5 separate regions of the Homo sapiens genome follow, and regions 2, 3, 4 and 5 are each linked to region 1. The links are contacts of gene promoters, found by promoter capture Hi-C in blood cells and fetal thymus (Javierre and others, 2016). All regions are on one chromosome and are shown on one strand. The core of a region is centred on a gene start or on the middle of the fragment in contact, and the rest is flanking DNA. Distances in the headings are between cores, read along the strand shown. Region 1 holds the start of KPNA5 (karyopherin subunit alpha 5). Region 2 has its middle 6.2 kb from the start of SERINC1. Region 3 overlaps SERINC1 (serine incorporator 1). Region 4 overlaps HSF2 (heat shock transcription factor 2). Region 5 overlaps REV3L (REV3 like, DNA directed polymerase zeta catalytic subunit).

Evidence for each region. Contacts are between HindIII fragments. The CHiCAGO score rates a contact against its expected background, and 5 or more counts as called.
Region 2: a contact is called between a fragment that was not itself captured here and the fragment with the promoter of KPNA5 in region 1, in 2 of 17 cell types (non-activated CD4 T cells and total CD8 T cells). The highest score is 11.5, in non-activated CD4 T cells.
Region 3: a contact is called between a fragment that was not itself captured here and the fragment with the promoter of KPNA5 in region 1, in 5 of 17 cell types (total CD4 T cells, total CD8 T cells, naive CD8 T cells and 2 more). The highest score is 13.8, in total CD4 T cells.
Region 4: a fragment that was not itself captured here is called in contact with the fragment with the promoter of KPNA5 in region 1 in 8 of 17 cell types (total CD8 T cells, total CD4 T cells, non-activated CD4 T cells and 5 more); the score reaches 14.1 in total CD8 T cells.
Region 5: a contact is called between a fragment that was not itself captured here and the fragment with the promoter of KPNA5 in region 1, in 1 of 17 cell types (total CD4 T cells). The highest score is 6.6, in total CD4 T cells.

What each region holds. Positions count from the first base shown.
Region 1 is chr6:116,679,207-116,683,001 of GRCh38, forward strand. KPNA5 (karyopherin subunit alpha 5) reads left to right here and starts at 2,005. Exons shown (of 14, transcript NM_001366306.2): 1 at 2,005-2,132. The coding sequence starts at 2,129. RefSeq lists enhancers at 1,602-2,585, 2,586-3,567. The HindIII fragment of the contact is 1,991 bases long and covers 1,521-3,511 here.
Region 2 is chr6:122,476,116-122,479,910 of GRCh38, forward strand. It overlaps a transcript of PKIB not described here. Among named protein-coding and RNA genes, the nearest start is that of SERINC1, 6.2 kb to the left of the region's middle. The HindIII fragment of the contact is 248 bases long and covers 1,848-2,095 here.
Region 3 is chr6:122,459,048-122,462,842 of GRCh38, forward strand. All of the region lies in intron 1 of SERINC1 (serine incorporator 1), which reads right to left. Among named protein-coding and RNA genes, the nearest start is that of SERINC1, 11 kb to the right of the region's middle. The HindIII fragment of the contact is 9,444 bases long and covers 1-3,795 here.
Region 4 is chr6:122,400,473-122,404,267 of GRCh38, forward strand. All of the region lies in intron 1 of HSF2 (heat shock transcription factor 2), which reads left to right. Among named protein-coding and RNA genes, the nearest start is that of HSF2, 2.7 kb to the left of the region's middle. The HindIII fragment of the contact is 1,052 bases long and covers 1,474-2,525 here.
Region 5 is chr6:111,477,861-111,481,655 of GRCh38, forward strand. The region is part of intron 1 of REV3L (REV3 like, DNA directed polymerase zeta catalytic subunit); the gene reads right to left. Among named protein-coding and RNA genes, the nearest start is that of REV3L, 3.5 kb to the right of the region's middle. RefSeq lists enhancers at 1-184, 782-1,506. The HindIII fragment of the contact is 2,284 bases long and covers 911-3,194 here.

The DNA.
Region 1 (3,795 bases), core at 755-3,254:
GGTGCTGGGTAAAACGAGGCTGAGACCTACTGAGCTGCATTCCCAGGAGGTTAGGCATTCTTAGTCACAGAAGATTGGAGGTCCACGCAAGATACAGGTCACAAAGACCCTGCTGATAAACAGGATGTCGTAAAGAAGACAGGCCAAACCCACCAAAACCAAGATGAAGACAAAAGTGACCTCTGGTCATCCTCACTTCTCATTATACGTGAATTATAATGCATTAGCATGCTAAAAGACACTCCCACCAGCACCATGACAGTTTACAAATGCCATGGCAACATCCAGAAGTCATACAGTCTAAAAGAGGGTAGAACCCTAAGTTCCAAAAATTGCCTGCCCCCTTCCTTGAAAACTCATGAATAATCCACCCCTTGTTTAACATATAATTAAGAAATAACTGGCTGGGCGCGGTGGCTCACGCCTGTAATCCCAGCACTTTGGGAGGCCGAGCCAGGAGGATCACCAGGTCAGTAGATTGAGACCATCCTGGCTAACACGGTGAAACCCTGTCTCTACTAAAAATACAATAAATTTCCAGCTACTCGGGAGGCTGAGGCAGGAGAATGGCGTGAACCCGGGAGGCGGAGCTTGCAGTGAGCCGAGATGGCGCCACTGCACTCCAGCCTGGGCGACAGAGCAAGACTCCGTGTCAAAACAAACAAACAACACACAAAAAAACTATATACTCAGTCCAGCAGCCCAAGCCACTGCTCTGCCTATGGAGTAGCCATTCTTTTGTTTCTTTACTTCTTTAATAAACTTGCTTTCACTTCACTATATGGACTCATGATTGGCAACGCTTTCTGGTAACACTGCCCAGGTTTCCTTTGTCAAGCGTGCCTTTCTCAGCCCTACATACCCACAGTTAAATAATCCCTTCTCTCCTGTTTATTTTTCAACTATTGAAAATAGCAAACATCTTAAAACAATTTGTCTTCATGTTTTTCCTCTTAAAAAATTGCAAACGTCTTCTGGGCAGGATTTATGTATTGTTTATCTTATTTATTCTCTTCCTATTGCATCTGGAACACAGTCTGTTTTCAATACCGTTTGTTGAACTCCAGGGTAGATTACAGGGCTGTGTATTATAATCTACAGTACTTTAACTGAAGTTACTCGTTTATTGGTGACTACATTGCTGTCAAAAATACACTCATGTGGCTGGGTGTGGTGGCTCATGCCTGTAATCCCAACACTTTGGGAGGCTGAGGCGGGCGGATCAGGAGGTCAAGAGATCAAGACCATCCTGGCCAACACGGTGAAACCTGGTCTCTACTAAAAATACAAAAATTAGCTGGGCGTGGTGGCGCATGCCTGTAGTCCCAGCTACTTGGGAGGCTGAGGCAGGAGAATCGCTTGAACCTGGGAGGCGGAGGTTGCAGTGAGCCGAGATCGCATCACTGCACTCCAGCCTGGTGACAGCGCCAGACTCCGTCTCAAAAAAAACCCCCCAAAAACAGAAAAACAAAAACAAAAAACCGCAGATGTTATAGAATATAAAATTATAAATGACAAAAAGCTTGAAATAAAACGAGCAGAGCATATAAAAGTTAATGAAGCTGAAGAAAACGTGAGCTTCTCCGTACACTTAACAAGGCTGCGATTTTTACCAACTTTTTTGCACTGTTGTAGCCCCAATAATGTATCTAAAATGGTACTTGACACAGTTTATATCCTTAAGAATGTATGCATGCACGCACGCGTGAAGAATGAATGAATGAGGGGTCGTCCCTTTGCACACACGGAGGTCTACGGGCCGCAGAGTACCTACAGCATGGCCACCGCAAGCGCAACTAAAATCCAGGGCTTGTCGCAGGCACAGGCTCCTCCTTCGGTGGGTGGGACGGCGGCGCGCACTTTCTCTACGCCCCACTGCTAGGATGTGCGGCCACCACTCCTCCTCCGCCGCCGCCGCCGCCGCCGCCGCCGCCGCCGCGTCGAGTGCAAGGGCTTCTGGGAGCCGAGCCTCGGGGTCTCGGAGAAGGGGCGCAGGTGGCCGCCATCTTGGATTGCGAACTGGGTCGCTACGCTTCACGCCAGGGGCGGAGTGGCGGCCCTTCTGTTACCCGCCACACACGTCGCCGCTGGGGACTGGGAAATCAGGGCATCGGAGAGTGCCACATTAATGGGTAAGTTGGAGTGAACACGGGCTAGGTTGGGGGAGCCTCGGTTTTGGTCCCTTTGGGAACTACTAGTTCCTGGGGCCACGGTTTTTATTTACCCCTTACTTTGCGAAGGTCTCTGGAACCTGGCGGTGCCGGGTGTTTCTCGTGTTTTCCCCAGGGCGACAGCGGTCGCGGGGGCGTGGCAGCCGGACCTTTCCCTTGCGGACGCGAAGGCGTGGTGAGTTCAGATTCTTTCAGCAGGTCCTCTGGAGTGATGGGCAGCTGGTCTCATCTTCGCCGCCCCGCCTCACCGTTTCTCGGTAGTTCTTTTCAGTTAATGGAATTGCCAAACGTTGCCACTCATACCTGGTACCCATCAGCTGTGTCCAGCAGCTTATGGAAATTCCACAGTGTCCAAAGAAGAGACAGGTTCCATCCCGAGGGCCTCCTAGCCTCGCCCTCTCCATCCGCCAGCCTCCCTCCTCCACCTGCGTGCAGGTGCCTCTAGTGCTCATTCCCGACGACAAGGCAAGCCTGGGTTCCACGCTTCTAATAGTCGGGCAGCTCCGTTCTAAGATGAAAACTTAGGTTTTCATCGATAATACATAGGAGATGGAAGTATTTGAAAGCTGTGAAATGACAGTGATATGTCTAAAGAATATGACATTGGCGGCGGGCGCGGTGGCTCACGCCTGTAATCCCAGCACTTTGGGAGGCGGAGGCGGGCGGATCACGAGGTCAGGAGATCGAGACCATCCTGGCTAACACGGTGAAACCTCGTCTCTACCAAAAATACAAAAAATACAAAATAAAATACAAAATAATAAATACAAAAAAAATACCAAAAATACAAAAAAAGGAAAAATTAGCCTGGCATGGTGGTGGGCGCCTGTAGTCCCAGCGACTCGGGAGGCTGAAGCAGGAGAACGGTGTGAACCCGGGCGGCGGAGCTTGCAGTGAGCCGAGAGCGCCATTGCACTCCAGCCCGGGCGACAGAGCGAGACTCTGTCTCAAAAAACAAACAAAAGAATATGACACTGGCATTTACTTTTGAGCTTTTTAGACATGTTTTTTAAAAAAGACAAAAACACTAATGATTTATCTCTCAATTACAACACCCAATAATGATGACTCATATTCTGTACAAAAGTGGTTTTCTTGGTAGGTCAGGAGCAACTCTCTCCCTCCGACCTAAGTACTGCTTGTTTGGTTGTGAGGGCTCTCTAGTTGGCACTTCCCCCGCTTTGTGCAGTCTTTTACTTTCACTAATGAGGCGCCCAGCCCCATGGAAATGAAGGCTTTACTGGCATAAGAAATAATGTCGATTGATATTAAAGAAAATCATAAGTTCAGATTCCAGTTATTTGCCCAACTTAAACATGGTTTTTCTAAGAGCCGTTGAAAGCTTATGAATGAAAAAAATTCCTCTATTCTGTAACTTTAAAGTGCTGGAATAACATTTCTAAATAAAAATATTTAATTTTTATGAGACCTCAGCCTTTGAAGTGCAGCCTTTAAATTTATTTTTCAGTGAACGAAACAATCCCATTGGATGGGGCCCCTTTAGAGATAATTTCCCTTGGTTTATTGTCCCCTTTAAAGCAACTGCAGTGAGGATGGATGCAGTGTTAAATCTGAAGCCGGAAGTCAGTACTATTGAAGAAAAAGGAACAAGTGATATCTGAGT
Region 2 (3,795 bases), core at 722-3,221, 5.8 Mb after region 1:
TGAGGACTGAAACATCTTGGCCCCCCCACAGTAGTTAAAGGATGAATAAAATTTGTGCATAGTTTGTTATATAATCCAAGGAGAGCAAAAATATAAAAAGTATTTTATGGCTTTTATCCTAAATTAGTTATATCTTAAATGTAAACATGTTTAAGTATTTCACAGATATTCTGAAAGGATAAGCCAAAAATAGATTAGGACACAGTAACCCATAGGGGTCAGTATAAACTTAGAATTGGAAGAGACCATATTCTGATTAAAGACATGCTTTTATCTGTTAAGACACACATTGATAGTTTTGGAAAATAATTCAAAACTAAGATACAGTGTCAAATGTACAAAAACTCTCTTCAATTATGGTCTTAATGTTAAAACAGCAAATGAACAATATTCTTTCCACACAGATTTTCTTATTTTGCTGAAATCTAAGCCTATAATTCCATAACAAGCAGATATGTTTATACCAGTGAAATAGATGTCTACAAAAATAAGTTTATTTCAGGCAGAACATACATAAATTCAGGAAAAAAGGAAATATTCACTGTGTAAATAATAAAGTGGATAGCAAATTCAAATATGTGTCTAATATTTAATGTACTATTTTATAATCATTGAGAAGGGAGTGACTTCTTGAAAAAGTGTAAATGACATTTCTAAAACATTTCACTTTTCAAGGGCAGATGTATTGACCTTGATAAAATAATGAAATTATATACTGAAGAAATTCTTCACATTCATTCACCCAAAACGTTATTTATTTGTGCTACAGAAAGGAATCAACTAGTTCGATTTGGCACTCATCAGATTTTTGAATTCTTATTAAACATGTTATTAAGGCAACGTCTAAATCAGCACCTTCCAATAGAAATGAAATGTGAATCACATTTGTAATTTAAAATTTTTTGTAGATGTATTAAAAGAAACGGATGAAATTAATTTTAAAGATGCATTTAATTGAACTCTATATCCAAAATATTTCAATGACATTAATATAAAAATTCTTAATAGAATGTTTTACATTATTTTTCATATAAGTCTTCAGAATCTGGTTGTGTTATATAATTAAGAGCACATCTCCATTTGGACCAGCATATTTCAAATGTCCAGTAGTCCCTATATTGGACAATGCAGGTCTGTAAGCTGAAGGAGAAAGTCGAGGCAATTATCCAGGTGATACAAGCTAAACAAGGAAGCAATCATATTTTTCTTTGTATAAGTTATTTAGATATTTCAGATAAAGTGGTTTTAAGCCTGTGCATTTGCTTTAGGTATTGAACCTAAATTGATTTCTTATATAAAAATCAGATATGAGAGATTTGTAAGAAGGATAAATGTTATATTCTGATAATCATTTAGGCTATCAAAGTACTATACTATATGATACTATATGAAATTTGCCAGATTTGACTTTATTTTCCAGTAATCCATATATTCCATTATGTTATTTTAGCCAATTTATCCTGATTTCTTTTTTATTCACCTGAATTTCTATGGCCTTAGCTGCTTTCTTTCCTCCAGAATTAATTGTAAGAATAGAATGATATCCAGAGGCCCTGACATTTTAAGTGGCCTGATCTCAAGCGACTTCAGACAGTGATTTTTTCTTCTTACCCAATTCTCTACACCTCACTCCACTGACTGTATTGTCCATTATTGCGTAAAACACTTTGGCAAATTCATACCTAAAGCTCTTTCTACTGAGTGATTAAGAACTTTGGGTACTTTTTCCTCACAGTTTTTACCCTGTTGAAGATTTGCTTTAACTTCAAAAGTGATGACAAGAAAGTATGGACACCCCTTCAGGACCAACCTGATAAGTCACTGGTAAGGTCTTAATTTCTCCATAAAGCTTCCTAATATTTTCTAGTATTAAGGTCTTCATATCCCGTAACCCGCTTTGCATCACCTGCAGAAATCCTAGGCTTAGCTGTTTGGTAGCATCTGGCTGTGTCATTTGTTCTATTATTTTTCGCAGGCTCCCACCTAGAGTCCTGTTATAGTGAAGGCTGGCTTCCACTAGTTTCCATTATTGCTTATGGGTCTGTCCCTTTCCTCCAGAAAAGTCCTATCTTTTTAAAGATGTAATGTCAGATGAAGCTTATGAGCCAACCACAGGCCATTTTTTTAATCGACATCTCCTGAAGGAAATTTTCTGCCTTAGCTGGCCTGACTTACTTGTATTTTGTGGCAGAATCCAGTCTTTCTAGGAATCATCCAGTTTTAAAAATCATCTCAGTGGTTGTAGAGCTGACAGCAGAATTCTCTCTACCTATTTTCTCCGCCATGGAGAAAGCATTCCCAGCATCATTTATACAAATGCTATGCACATTTCCACTTCCCAGCAATACTCATCCAGCAGTTTAGATGCCATGGGAGGGTACTCCATAGTTCAGTTCTATGGTATGCTTTGATACGGGCATGGCTGGACACTGCACATTGTTCAGCAATTCCAAATGGTAGTCTTTAGTAAGAGAAAAAACATAATTAGAGTCACTTAACATATTATGTGGCAGCGGGGGGTGGGGAAATATCCTTTAAGAAGTAGCTTTCACATACAAATGGAGTCCAAAATAGTGAACTTTTCCCATTGGATATTTATATGAATACAACCATGGATTAAATGCCAATAGGAGAAAGTGTTTTAGAGACATGCTTAAAATCTGGAGAAAGAAAACAAAAAACAAAAAAAACTCCTGCAGCCAGCTCAGTGTCTGCCCAAACAGCCACCCAGTTTTGTGCTTGAAACCCAGGGCCCTGGTGGCGTAGGCACTGGAGGGAATCTCCTGGTCAGTGGGTTGTGAAGACCGTGGGAAAAGCATAGTATCTGGGCTAGAATGCACCATTCTTCATGGCACAGTCCCTCACGGCTTCCCTTGGCTACCAGAGGGAGTTCCTCGACCCCTTGCACTTCCCGGGTGAGGTGATGCCCCACCCTGCTTCTGCTTGCCCTTCGTGGCTGCACCCACTGTCTAATCAGTCCCGATGAGATGAGCTGGGTACCTCAGTTGGAAATGGAGAAATCACCCACCTTCTACATTGAACTTGCTGAATGCTGCAGAGAGCTGTTCCTATTGGGCCATCTTGACTAATTGCAAGAATATTTTTAAGAGCCTTTCCAGGGCTTCTTGCTTTCTCTAGGCAGACTCTCAGAAGCTCTGTCCCAGACACATTAAAGCAGTAATAAGCAACTTAATATCTTAATCCTGCCCTGAGAAAGGTACTTCATACTTTATAGAGTTTTGAGGCACTAAGAATCAACAAAGGGGAAAAAAGTTCCTTATCCTAATTGAGTGGCCTAGGAAACAACATGTAGTATTATGACTATGTGTTTTAATTCTGTCAATTAGAACTCAAAATTTTCTTTTTAGTCAGATCAGTTCTATAGTTTTGATAAATATCACAAAACAGAAATGAGAGTACAATGCATTTACTCATGGGTGCTTAGACATCAGAAGTCTCATTATTTTCTTTGCCCTCTTTCCTAGCTGTTAATATAATGCTAAGATTAAGTTGACACATTGACTAGACTGTGATCTCTCTTTGCCCTCTGCTTTATTTAAAGATTTTCCTTTGGCGAGCAGTTATATATCAGGCACTCCCCAAACCCAACATCAGAGACACTCAAAATTGCCGTGAATATTCTAGTAGCAATCTCAAAAGTTTTAAGTTCTTTTGTATATAGATAGACTTGACACATTCTCTCAAAGCATATACTGTTTCTGGCTTTTCACTGTCTACAATGCCAGTGCCGGTATTGACTGTAAGAGCTTCCCATGGCATGAATAAACAGTGAAA
Region 3 (3,795 bases), core at 887-3,386, 5.8 Mb after region 1:
CAGATACTAGACTGATGAATACAAAAAATTCCGAGGATTCTCAAATACATCCAGGGAGGGAAAAAAAAGTGAATTGATATATTTTCCTTCTTTTGACCTGGCGATAGTGATAATAATGAAAACTACAACTAGAGTGAGGCAAAAAGGATAATAATACAACTGGGGCTAGCTTTTCTCCAGTAACCACCACACTAAACTAGCAGTATGCCCCCAAGGGAACAGAATATCTTCCTGTCTAGGAGAGAGGAACACTGGTACAGAGTATTTAACAGTATCTAAGAAAGCCACAGAGTAAATATTCTCATAATATCATAACCTGGGCTGAGATGTCAGACTTCTAGAAGGTGGATGAACCAGATCTTCCAGCCCTAGAATTACAGCTCTAGGGGAAAAGAGTCTTAGATATCACAGTAAGGGAATGTTGTAGAAGCCAGACCACTACACCAACCAATATAAGGTAAGAATAAAGCTGCTTTATATTAAACGTCCACAAAACGGAAATACATGTCATGGCAACTATGTAAATATACTTTAGCAAAAGTTAAACATAAACATCTCCCCTCAGAAAAAGGAATGAAGAAAATATAAGGCATATGAAGAATTCAGTCTGAAATAAATATAATCCAGTAAGAAAAGGAAATCCCCTACCAGTATTTCATTTGAGCTACAGAAAAATAAAAAATATTTTTTGTTAAAAAAGGAGACCTCAAAAATGAAGTAAGAACAGAACACAATGGAAAGTGGAAATCAAAGGGCTAAAGAAATGAGAAGGGAAAAAACGGACTTAACTAGTAACTATCAAGAAACAAAACAGACATAGGTAAACATAAAATTACTGATGAAAAAAGGCTTGGGATAATTACTATAAATTCAGGTCAAGATGGAGAAACCATGACCAGACTTATCCTCCTGACTTAAACAATGGAAAAAATAAGTTTTTCAGACAATGAACAACAGGCAATGTAAAGCCAGCAATTTCTAAGAGGAGACAATGTGAGCCCTATGACTGGCCCTTATTTTATTGATTAATTGATTGATTTACACAGTCTCCTTCTGTCACCCAGGCTGGAGTGCAGTGGTGCGATCTCAGCTCACTGCAACCTTCCCCCACCCACTCCGGGTTCAAGGGATTTTCCTGCCTCAGCCTCCTGAGTAGCTGGGATTGCAGGCGTGCACCACCACACCCGGCTAATTTTTGTATTTTTTTGTAGTTTTAGTAGACAGGGTTTCACCATGTTGGCCAGGCTGGTCTCCTGACCTCAGGTGATCCGCCTACCTCGGCCTCCCAAAGTGCTGGGATTACAGGTGTGGCCCACCGCGCCCAGCCAAGTGGCCCTTATTTCTGCCTAGGGAGAATGTTCACTGCAGGGAGGGTCTGAGAATTTTACCACCCAGAGGTGAAAAACTTTGTAATCCATGAGGCATTGGGTAAAGATATCAGAAGGCAATTAATACTGGAGAAAAATCAGCCATCAAACTAAAGGCTGCACTAGTTGCACTTAACGAAACCTAAAGGCAAATAAAAAGATCACACTGTCTCTAAGTAAAATCACCCAAGTCAAAGATAAAAGCCCAAGAATATTTTTTTGAAAATAAAAGTATATCCAGCGCTGATCAAGGAAAAATTTACACTGGAAAGCTAACAAAAAATTAGCAGGCATGCAAAAACCAGAAAAATACAACCTATAATGAGGATCAATCAGTCAATATCAACCTGGAAATGATATAGATAACTGAGTTCATTTATAAATAGGGCATTGTAGTATTACTGTTAAGTATATATCACATGCTCAAGGAAGTAGAGGAAAACTTGATAATGTTACGGACAGACATGGAAGATAATTTAAAATTAAGACCCATATCATACTTCTCCAGATGATAAAATAAGCCCCCTAAATATTGACAAGACAGAAGAAAAGATTAATAATGAACCTGAAGACATAAGAAAATAAATGATCCAAAATGAAAGAGAGATAAAAATAAGAAAAGGATCAGAACATTGTGAGACAACTTTAAATAGCCTAATATAAGTGAAATTAGAGTCCCTGAAATGAACTTCAATTGGAGAGAAGTGACACAAAGGTGCTTCTGAGGAAGTAATTGCCCAAATTTTTCCAAATTTATGAAAACGATAAACTCACAGATCCAGGAAACTCAACAAAGCCCTAGCAAAATAAACATGAAAACCACACCAAGTCACATCATAATCAAATTACTTAAAAAAGTAATAATCAGAAAAATCTTAAAAGTAGGCAGAAAAATAAAATGTACATTATAAACTGAGGAACAAAGAAATAAATCACACTTCTAGTAAGAAACGGTTCAAGCCTAAAATCAGTACCGAAAGAAAAAAATATGTAAACATAGAATTTTGTACGCATATTCTCACTGATAGGTGTGAATTGAACAGTGAGATCACATGGACACAGGAAGGGGAATATCATACTCTGGGGACTGTGGTGGGGTTGGGGGAGGGGGGAGGGATAGCATTGGGAGATATACCTAATGCTAGATGACGAGTTAGTGGGTGCAGCGCACCAGCATGGCACATGTATACATATGTAACTAACCTGCACAATGTGCACATGTACCCTAAAACTTAAAGTATAATAAAAAAAAAAAAGAATTTTATACTCAGTGAAAATATCTTCCAAAAATTAAGGCAAAATAAAGACATTTTCAGGAATAGAAAAGACAAAATAATCCAAACAAGCAGAATTAAACTACCAGAAATGTTGAAGGAAATCCTCCAAGAAAGAAAATTATACCAGAGAGAAATTTGGATTTGCATACAAAGGAATATGAAAGAGACATATTCTTCTTATTTAAAAAAATGGGCCAGAATTACAGAGACTAAATCCAAAGACATCATAAGAAAATAATAGACCGATATCCCTCATAAACATACACAAAAAAATTCTTAATGATATTTTAGCAAGTCAAAAACAGCAATATGAAAGTATATAAAAAGGATAATATATTGCCACCAGGTAGAGTTTAGCCTGGAAAAGCAAGGCTGGTTCCACTTTTAAAAATCAACCAATGACCTCTACTGTATAAACAGACTAAAGAAAAAAAACAAGGTCATCTCAATAGATACAGAAAAACCATTTGACAAAATTCAATACCTATTCATGATATAAACTGTCAGCAAAGAATAGAAGATAACATCCTTAACTTGATAAATGGCATTTACAAATACCTATAGCTCTCACCCATAATTAATGACGAAAGTCTGAATGCTTTCCCTGTAAGACATCAAACAAGGCAAAATACCTCTCTCACCATTTGAATTCAACTTCACACTGGAGGTCCCAGCCAATATAATGAGGCAAGAAAGAAAATAAAACATAAAAATTGGAATGGAAGACACGAAACTGCCCTCTTCACATATAACACAACTGTCTATATAGAAAATCCCAAAGAGGGCCATACACCATGGCTCACACCTGTAATCCCAGCAATTTGGGAAGCTGAGGCAGGAGGACCATTTGAGCCTAGGAGTTCAAGGAGTTCAATGATAGCGCCACTGCACTCGAGTCTGGATGACAACAAAACAAAACAAATAAAAACAATAAAAATACCCCACAAAGAACCTACAAAAATGCAACTAGAACTAACTCATCGGTTTAATAAGGTCACATGATAAAAAGTCAATATACACAATCATGTTTCTACGTATTAGTAATAACTGAAAACAAAAAGAAAATAGTTATAAATCTAACAAAACATAGACAAGATCTCAAATAATGAAAACTACAAAACATTGGTGAAAGAAATCAAAGACCTAAATGA
Region 4 (3,795 bases), core at 750-3,249, 5.7 Mb after region 1:
GGATTGTTTTAATAAAGTACTAATAGGTGGTAACTTAGTAGTTACTAAATTTCGCTGAACAGTTACCAGCAGAGGGGCATATCGATGTGTTGATTATTGGTTTGATCTCAACTCTGCTTCTAAACAAGCATGACCTTAGTCCAGCCCTTTATCTTGTCTGGCCTAAGTTAAATCTTTCATAAGATGGATGGGTTGCCTAGGTGACCCAAGACCTATATCAGTCCCAAATACAAGATTTTAGGCAGAATGATTATTTACATCCACAGTGCATGTGCATTAGAATACACTCCTAGGCTGTTGGAATCATTTTTATGAAGGAAAGTGGTTAACTCTTATTGTAGATGATCACCTATTGAGGCATATTTTCATATGTGTAGTTCTTGAGAAGAATAAGTGAAAACTACCTGCATAGTGCCTGGCACCTGTTAAGTGCTGAGTAAATGTTATCTCCCGTCCTCCTTTCTTTCCTGTTCTCCTATTATAGGAACTCTTAGTTTTATTTACTTTTGTCTTAACAGGGAGTGAGCACCATATTAAGACCCTGAAGTTTTGACTTCTGTAATACCATAGTTTGCCTTGTGTTATTATTTGTTCTTTTTTCCGACTTCCTTCTAGGATTTAATTTTTGTGTGTTCTTTATGAGCAACTGAGTTATCCTTTTAGCCCCACTCCCTGCTTGGAGTTGAGTAGGGGGGCGTGAGTGTTTCTATTAAGCATTTAATGAATTCTGTACAATTGTACAAAGCTAGGTGAAAATAAGAAAGCCAGCCACTAGCATGTACTTAAAATAAACACATGTCTCATGCTTTTCATCAGTTAGAAGGATTAAAAGTTGACAAGAAGGATCAGTACAGACTGTTACTCAGACACGTATTCGTGTTAGAGATTGGACTGAGATTCTCTCCCCACGAAAGCTGACTTTATCATACCTTTTTGTCTTTTATGGGCCAGAAATAGGGGCTATATATATTGGCAGTTGCTTTTAATCAGAGTATCATGTCAGTGGTAGGCCTATTAAATTCTGATTAGCAACAGTGTTTTAATAACATTCTTATTTTCTGAGTACTGTCAAATGTGGAGAGTTTCGTACTGATCCGTAAATGCATCATTCTATGAGTTCTAAGCCAAATAAACAAGCCACTTAACCATTTTTTAATCCCATTATTAACTTTAAGCTTATGTGTTAACCAATTTTCTAATATGCCAGTGGGACAATCAAAATGTAAGCTCAGTGAGATCACTGTGCCAGAGACACACTAGGTGTTTAATAATTGTTTGATGAATAAATGAGATCCCTCGAAAATGTAATGGAGTGGTAGGAATGATGAAGATAAAATTATATTTGAAATGACTCTTAGAGATCATCTAGGTTAGCCTTATCATTGTATAGATGAGGATTTGAGGCTTGGACAGGTGAGATTATTTATCCATAATTATACAGCTCGCCAAGATTGGAGATAAGACCCTAACATAAGCTTGTCCAACCCGAGGCTCACATGTGGCCAAGGATGGGTTTGAATGCGGCCCAGCACAAATTCATAAAGTTTCTTAAAGAAACATGAGATATTTTTGCAATTTTGCTTTTAAGCTCATCAGCTATCATTAGTGTTAGTGTATTTTATGTGTGGCCCAAGACAATTCTTCTTCCAGTGTGGCCCAGGAAAACCAAAAGATTGGACACCCCTACCCTAATAGATTTCTGAGCTCCCAGATCAGTCTTCCACCAATAGAACTAGACTTAATGCAAGTTGACATCATATTTAGTTTTATACCAAAATGTTGCTTGCCACAAGTCAATGGACAATTCTGAATAAATGTTGTCTAGGGCTAAGCCTAGTTGCTTAGGCAGCTGTCTCATTTGTGCTCTCCATGGATTTTTCTAAAAGCAGTGCTAATACTGAAAAGTAAAACTTTAACAATAATGTTAGGTGGAAAAACCAAAATAAGTTACTTTCATCTTTCTCTTTTCTTTGATGAATAAATGAAACCCTAGAAAATGTAATGAGAGTGGTAGGAATGATGATATAATAGTCCTCAACAGGCTTTGAATTTCCAAGTGGCAGAGACTATATCACACTATATCATATTCGTTTTTTTTTTTTGTGGTAGAGTATCACTCTGTCACCCTGGAGTACGGTGGCACGATCTCGGCTCACTGCAGCCTCTGCCTCCTGGGCTCAAACGATTCTTCTGCCTCAGCGTCTCGAGTAGTTGTGATTACAGATGCGCACCACCATGCCTGGCTAATTTTTGTATTTTTAGTAGAGACAGTGTTTCACCATGTTGGCCAGGCAGTCTCAAACTCCTGACCTCAAGTGATCCACCCGTCTCGGCCTCCCAAAGTGTTGAGATTACAGGTGTGAGCCACCGGCGCCCAGGTACTCTCATCTTTTGAAAGTTGCTATTTATGGTGGTTTCTGGTTTCCTTCAAACTTGTGTTGTATTTCTGTTGAGGTAATTTAGCATTTATACTATGAAAATCATTGAGAACTTTTAGAAGAAGCAGTTGTTTTGGGAACCAGACAAGCTTTTGTGCAGTTTTTTTTTTCAATGGTGGAAAATAATTTATTTCTCTACCTTGAGTGTAAGGCAAGGGAAAAAAAACTCTTACCAATTGCGTTTTGGAAAACGCAGTTGGTAATATCTCTAGATAATATCTCTGGAGACGTACATAACTTTAATTTTCCTCGAAATTTGCAATATGACAAAATTGAAAAGGGAAATAATACCTCTCACCATTAAATACAAGAATATAATAATCTGAACAATTGAAATTATACTTAAATATGTTATTGACTCTAAAATAATAGAAATGCCTTAATTCCAGACAGTCTTTAAGAAAGCATAATGTGGCTAGGCGTGGTGGCTCATGCCTGTAATCCCAGCACTTTGGGAGGCCAAGATGGGCAGGTTGCTTGAGCCCAGGAGTTTGAGACCAGCCTGGGCAACATGGTGAAACCCTGTCTCTACAAAAAAATACAGAAAGTAGCCAGGTATGGTGGCGTGCATCTTTAGTCCCAGCTACTCAGGAGGCTGAAGAGGGGAGATGGCTTGAGCCCATGAGGCAGAGGTTGCAATGAGCTGAGATCACACTACTGCAAGCCAGCCTGAACAACAGAACGAAATCCTGTCTCAAAACAACAACAACAAAAAACAGAAAGAAAAGAAAGTATGTTTTACATATTTCCATTTTCTCCTTACTCTTCTGAAAAACAAAAATGAAAAGTTTTCATTTTTTTTAACATTTCCTTTAAATGTAAAATTTTATATAACTGTTCTTGGCTTTGGTAGTCTGTTGTCAGAATCAAGTACAGAGATTGTACTGTCAGACGACCTAAAACTGTTTTAAATCTTAAGTGTCCTAAAGAGAGGGCACATATTAGCTTGGAAGCAACTGGTGAAACTTGATATTCAGAGACAAGGCCGTAGAGGTTAAATGAAGTTATATAGTAAAAAACAGCCTTTACGAGTTAATGAAATGTTACAACCAACGTATGCTGAAGTGAAGCAGTATAAAAGAAGGAAAGAACTGGAAGGTCATCCTTTTGTCAGTGTTGTTACCTTTGTCTCTGTTCTTCAGATTGTTTGAGAAAATGAAGTGATTTCCACCAAAGACTTCATACCCAGCTTTCCCCCCTTTTTGTGCCCTTTGGCATTCTCTGCTTCTCTATCCCCCTCATGTCAGCAGAGATGAATTAGGAAATAGGTAGGAGGGAGAGAGAGCAAAAACAGAATTTTTCCATTGTTTTCTAGCTGTTTTGGATGAATTTGAGCAGTAGGCCCTTGGACTTCACA
Region 5 (3,795 bases), core at 803-3,302, 5.2 Mb before region 1:
ATTAGGAGGCTACTGTAGTAAACCTGACCAAAAATGCTAGTAGTTTAGGGTGGTGATGGATTATGAAAAGAAGTAGACGGATTCAAAAGACAACCAGATTTGCCAAAAGATTTATGCTCATAGATTAAAATCCCTAAAACTAGAATTACTGGGTCAAAAAAGAACACTTCAAGGATTCTAATATACATTGCCAAACTGCCCTGCAAAGAGCAGTTGTCTTCATCTGTCAATTACCTTGTAGCTGTTCCTCTATCTGAAATTTTAAGTTCCTTAAAAATTCCTTTAACATGACTAATCCATATTTCCTTCACGAAGTCTTCCCTGACTCCCCTTTTTGCCTGGATATAGAACATGTCTCCCAATGAATCCTTGCTTTGTCTTATACACATTTCTATAGTCCAGTCATACTGCATTTGACTTACGTTTACATGCCCATCATCTCTACTACATTGTGAGCTTCTGGAGAGTAAAGCTGTTCTTAAGGCACTTAAAGCTAAAACAACTTGCTACTCAGGGCTTCAAATACCTACTTTAAAAAAAGTGACCAATTTGTTTGTGATGAGTCATTACATCTCCATAGCGTTCCTGAAAATCTCTCCAATAATTGTAATCAAATAGGTGTTATATGATCTTAAAATATTTTTAAATAGCTTAGTAAAAAACAGACTATGAACAAAGCAGATTCTATTAGAGAAACTTTTGAACCTGAGTTGTTGATACACGCTAATTTTCAAAATTATTCTTATTGCAAATTTAACTCCAATTTACCAAAAAAAAAAAAAAAGGTTATTCTGGTAGTTTCTTATATTTAATTTTATAAAATATAAACAATGAGAATATATTTATAATTGGATAAGCATCTACATAAACTTATATAGCATTTCAGAATTATCAATTCCTTATGTTGAAAAGCTTGATTTCATGGCTAACAGTATCTAGAACAATCTACCAAAATATTCACTAAGCTAGAGGAAGTGGCAGAGTTCCTTAGAGTAATCTTAAAGACAAGCAGCTCCCTCTATAGTCTGTCTGGCCTACTTTGTTTAATTCCTTGCTTTGTGGACATCCCACACTCTTCTATTTACTCCTACTCTGCATCTCAGCAGGGAAGCTCTTTGAAAGGATAGTTCTGTTTAACCTGGTGCTGAGGAAACTGTGAGAGCTGTCTAAACTCAGCATGAAGTGAGTTACATCAAGCAACTAAGCAAAAGTCGAGATGTGGAAAATGGACAGCTTCCCAAGTCCACCTCAGTCAAATCCTTAAATGAAGCCTGATGATTTCATTTGTAGTGAATCCTCTGAGTGGTCACACCTATATTCAAATCTAAATGAAAAAACATTGTCCTATACTTTATTCACAACCTTTCTTCCCTCCATTAAAACAAGTTACCAAAATGTTGTTCTAAAAGAAAAAATTAACAATTTATTCTACAAATGATACTGCTCAATTTGATTATGTCAAAATAATGTTCAAGACATTTTAAAAACTAGTTAAAAAAATGGAGAGGAAATTTGTTTTTGTTTTTTAAAAAATTCCATAACTCAGATGAAGAAACTTTAAGTGATTCCCTTAGGAATCAATATCCTCAGTTGGCAAGGGATTAAATCAGTCAGGATTTACCATTCAAATCTGAATATCCCCCCCCGCCTTTTTTTTTTTTTTTTTTAAGACAGGCTCTTGCTCTGTTGCCCAGGCTGGAGTGCAGTGGCGTGATCTTGGCTCACTGCAGCCTCAACCTTCTGGGCTGAAGCGATTCTCCTGTCTCAGCTTTCCAAATAGCTAGTACTACAGGTGCACACCACCACGCCCAGCCAATTTTGTTTGTTTGTTTGTTTGTTTTGTACAGACTATGTCGCCCAGGCTGGTCTCCAACTCCTGGGTTCAAGCGATCCTCCTGCCTCTGTCTTCCAAAGTGTTGGGATTACAGGCATGAGCCACAGCACCCAGCCCTGAATATCCCTCTTTTTAAAAATACCTTTTCAAATTTCACCAACTTAAGACATGGGAGCTTTTAAACCCAAAACACTTTATTTCTTAAATTACTCAAGATACGTCCTCAAAACACAGAACAATCAAAAGTCAACTGGACTGTTTTCTAAAGCAGAAAAATGCTTTTCAGGCAATAATAGAAAAACTAAACTAGTAAAAGGGTATTAATCCAATCAGTTCAGAATTTGTAATATAATTTTGAAACGGCCACTTCATTTGAGAAAAAATATCTTTGGTTGCTATTTTTCAGGATCTCATTTGTAAAGCAAAGTCAATTTTAAAACATTTTCTCTCCAAACCAAAGTAAAGCATTAAGGACCTCCCAAAGTAATTCTTATATATGAAAAAAGTATGTTTATGCTATTTTATGTAGCATAGGTTTATCATGTGTTACACATTTTTATTACCTTATTTTACTTGTTAGTAAAGATATAAACTATAAAGATATAATACAAACCATGTTTATATCTTTGCATTATGTTTACATCTTTACTTTCAAATAAATCTGTCTTCATTAAAAATTCTAGCATTCAGAGTTTTACTAAGTCAGACTGGCCTCTCTTTTATATTAATAATTTTCAAGTTTTATTTTATTGGACTAGTTTTCCTTGGGGAGATAATTCAAAAGCAGGTAATTCTGCAGTTTTTGATTATGTTTAATTAATATTAATCTCACTGGGAGTTTCTGACGTGCTAATAAAAATGCTGGCTTGGTTTATGAAAAGTGTAAACTCTAAATGTATGCCAATGACTTCAAATTTTTTCTTGTTGAAACAAACATTTTGTTGGAAACTGTGAACTACATGGCAAATTCAATTTGATAATCCTTAACAATTTAAAATTTGACTTTCTCTGTATCAAGTTTTATGTCTTTCAATGTACATATAAAAAGTGTTACTTTTTAATTCATTTAAAATATAAATTTCAAAGTATGTACCAAAAAAAAAACCCCAATGGGGGTTTTTAGTCTTTGGTTTTTTCGTTTTTGTTTTTTTTTTTTTTTTTAAGGTGCTGGTAATCTATTGTGGGATGTCCATGAAGGATTAAATAGGAAATAGTTAATGTGTCTTTTAAAAAATATTCAGGAAAACAACAGTATATAATATTCTTTATTTTTTAAGGAACATTTCCTCACGTAATAGAATTACATTAGCTTACAGTGAAACTCATTTATTTCCACAAACGAAACTTTCCTATACAACAAAGCTTGACTATCTCTCAGGAAAACATATTTAATGACTTGTGTGGAGGAGAAAAAATTATGTGTGGAAAAGTAACTCAAACCATACAAGCTGTAATACACAGAAATGCCACAGTATATCCTATTAGCATGTCACTTTATGATTCGGAAATTTGGCTGAACAGGGCCATATCAACTTCACTATTTTATCCTTCCTCTGCATCTGAAGTGAGAACAGTGCATTACACTGAAATTCCAATTGGAAACAAAGACAGCACCACTATATTTAAAAGGGCAGAAAACCTATCTTATAGAACACTTCATCGCCTCGATTTCCCAGCCTCCAAAGTTTCAAGTGTTACACTTTCAACACGTTAAAAGCACTCAAATTCCCCATCTTTCAAGGTTCATATCAAAATCATATTCACTAGTTTAAATAGGAATATGCTACCAAATCTCACAACATTGACATTTTAACAAAGAGAATTCACATTAAAAGATAACTGCTTTAAAATGAGTGCTTGTGTTTGGGAAAGCGCTATTATCTTGGTAGTCCACAGAAACTGACTGTAGTAATAAGATGAATGGTGATGAGGGCAAGGAGCATCAAGTGGGAAATGCTATC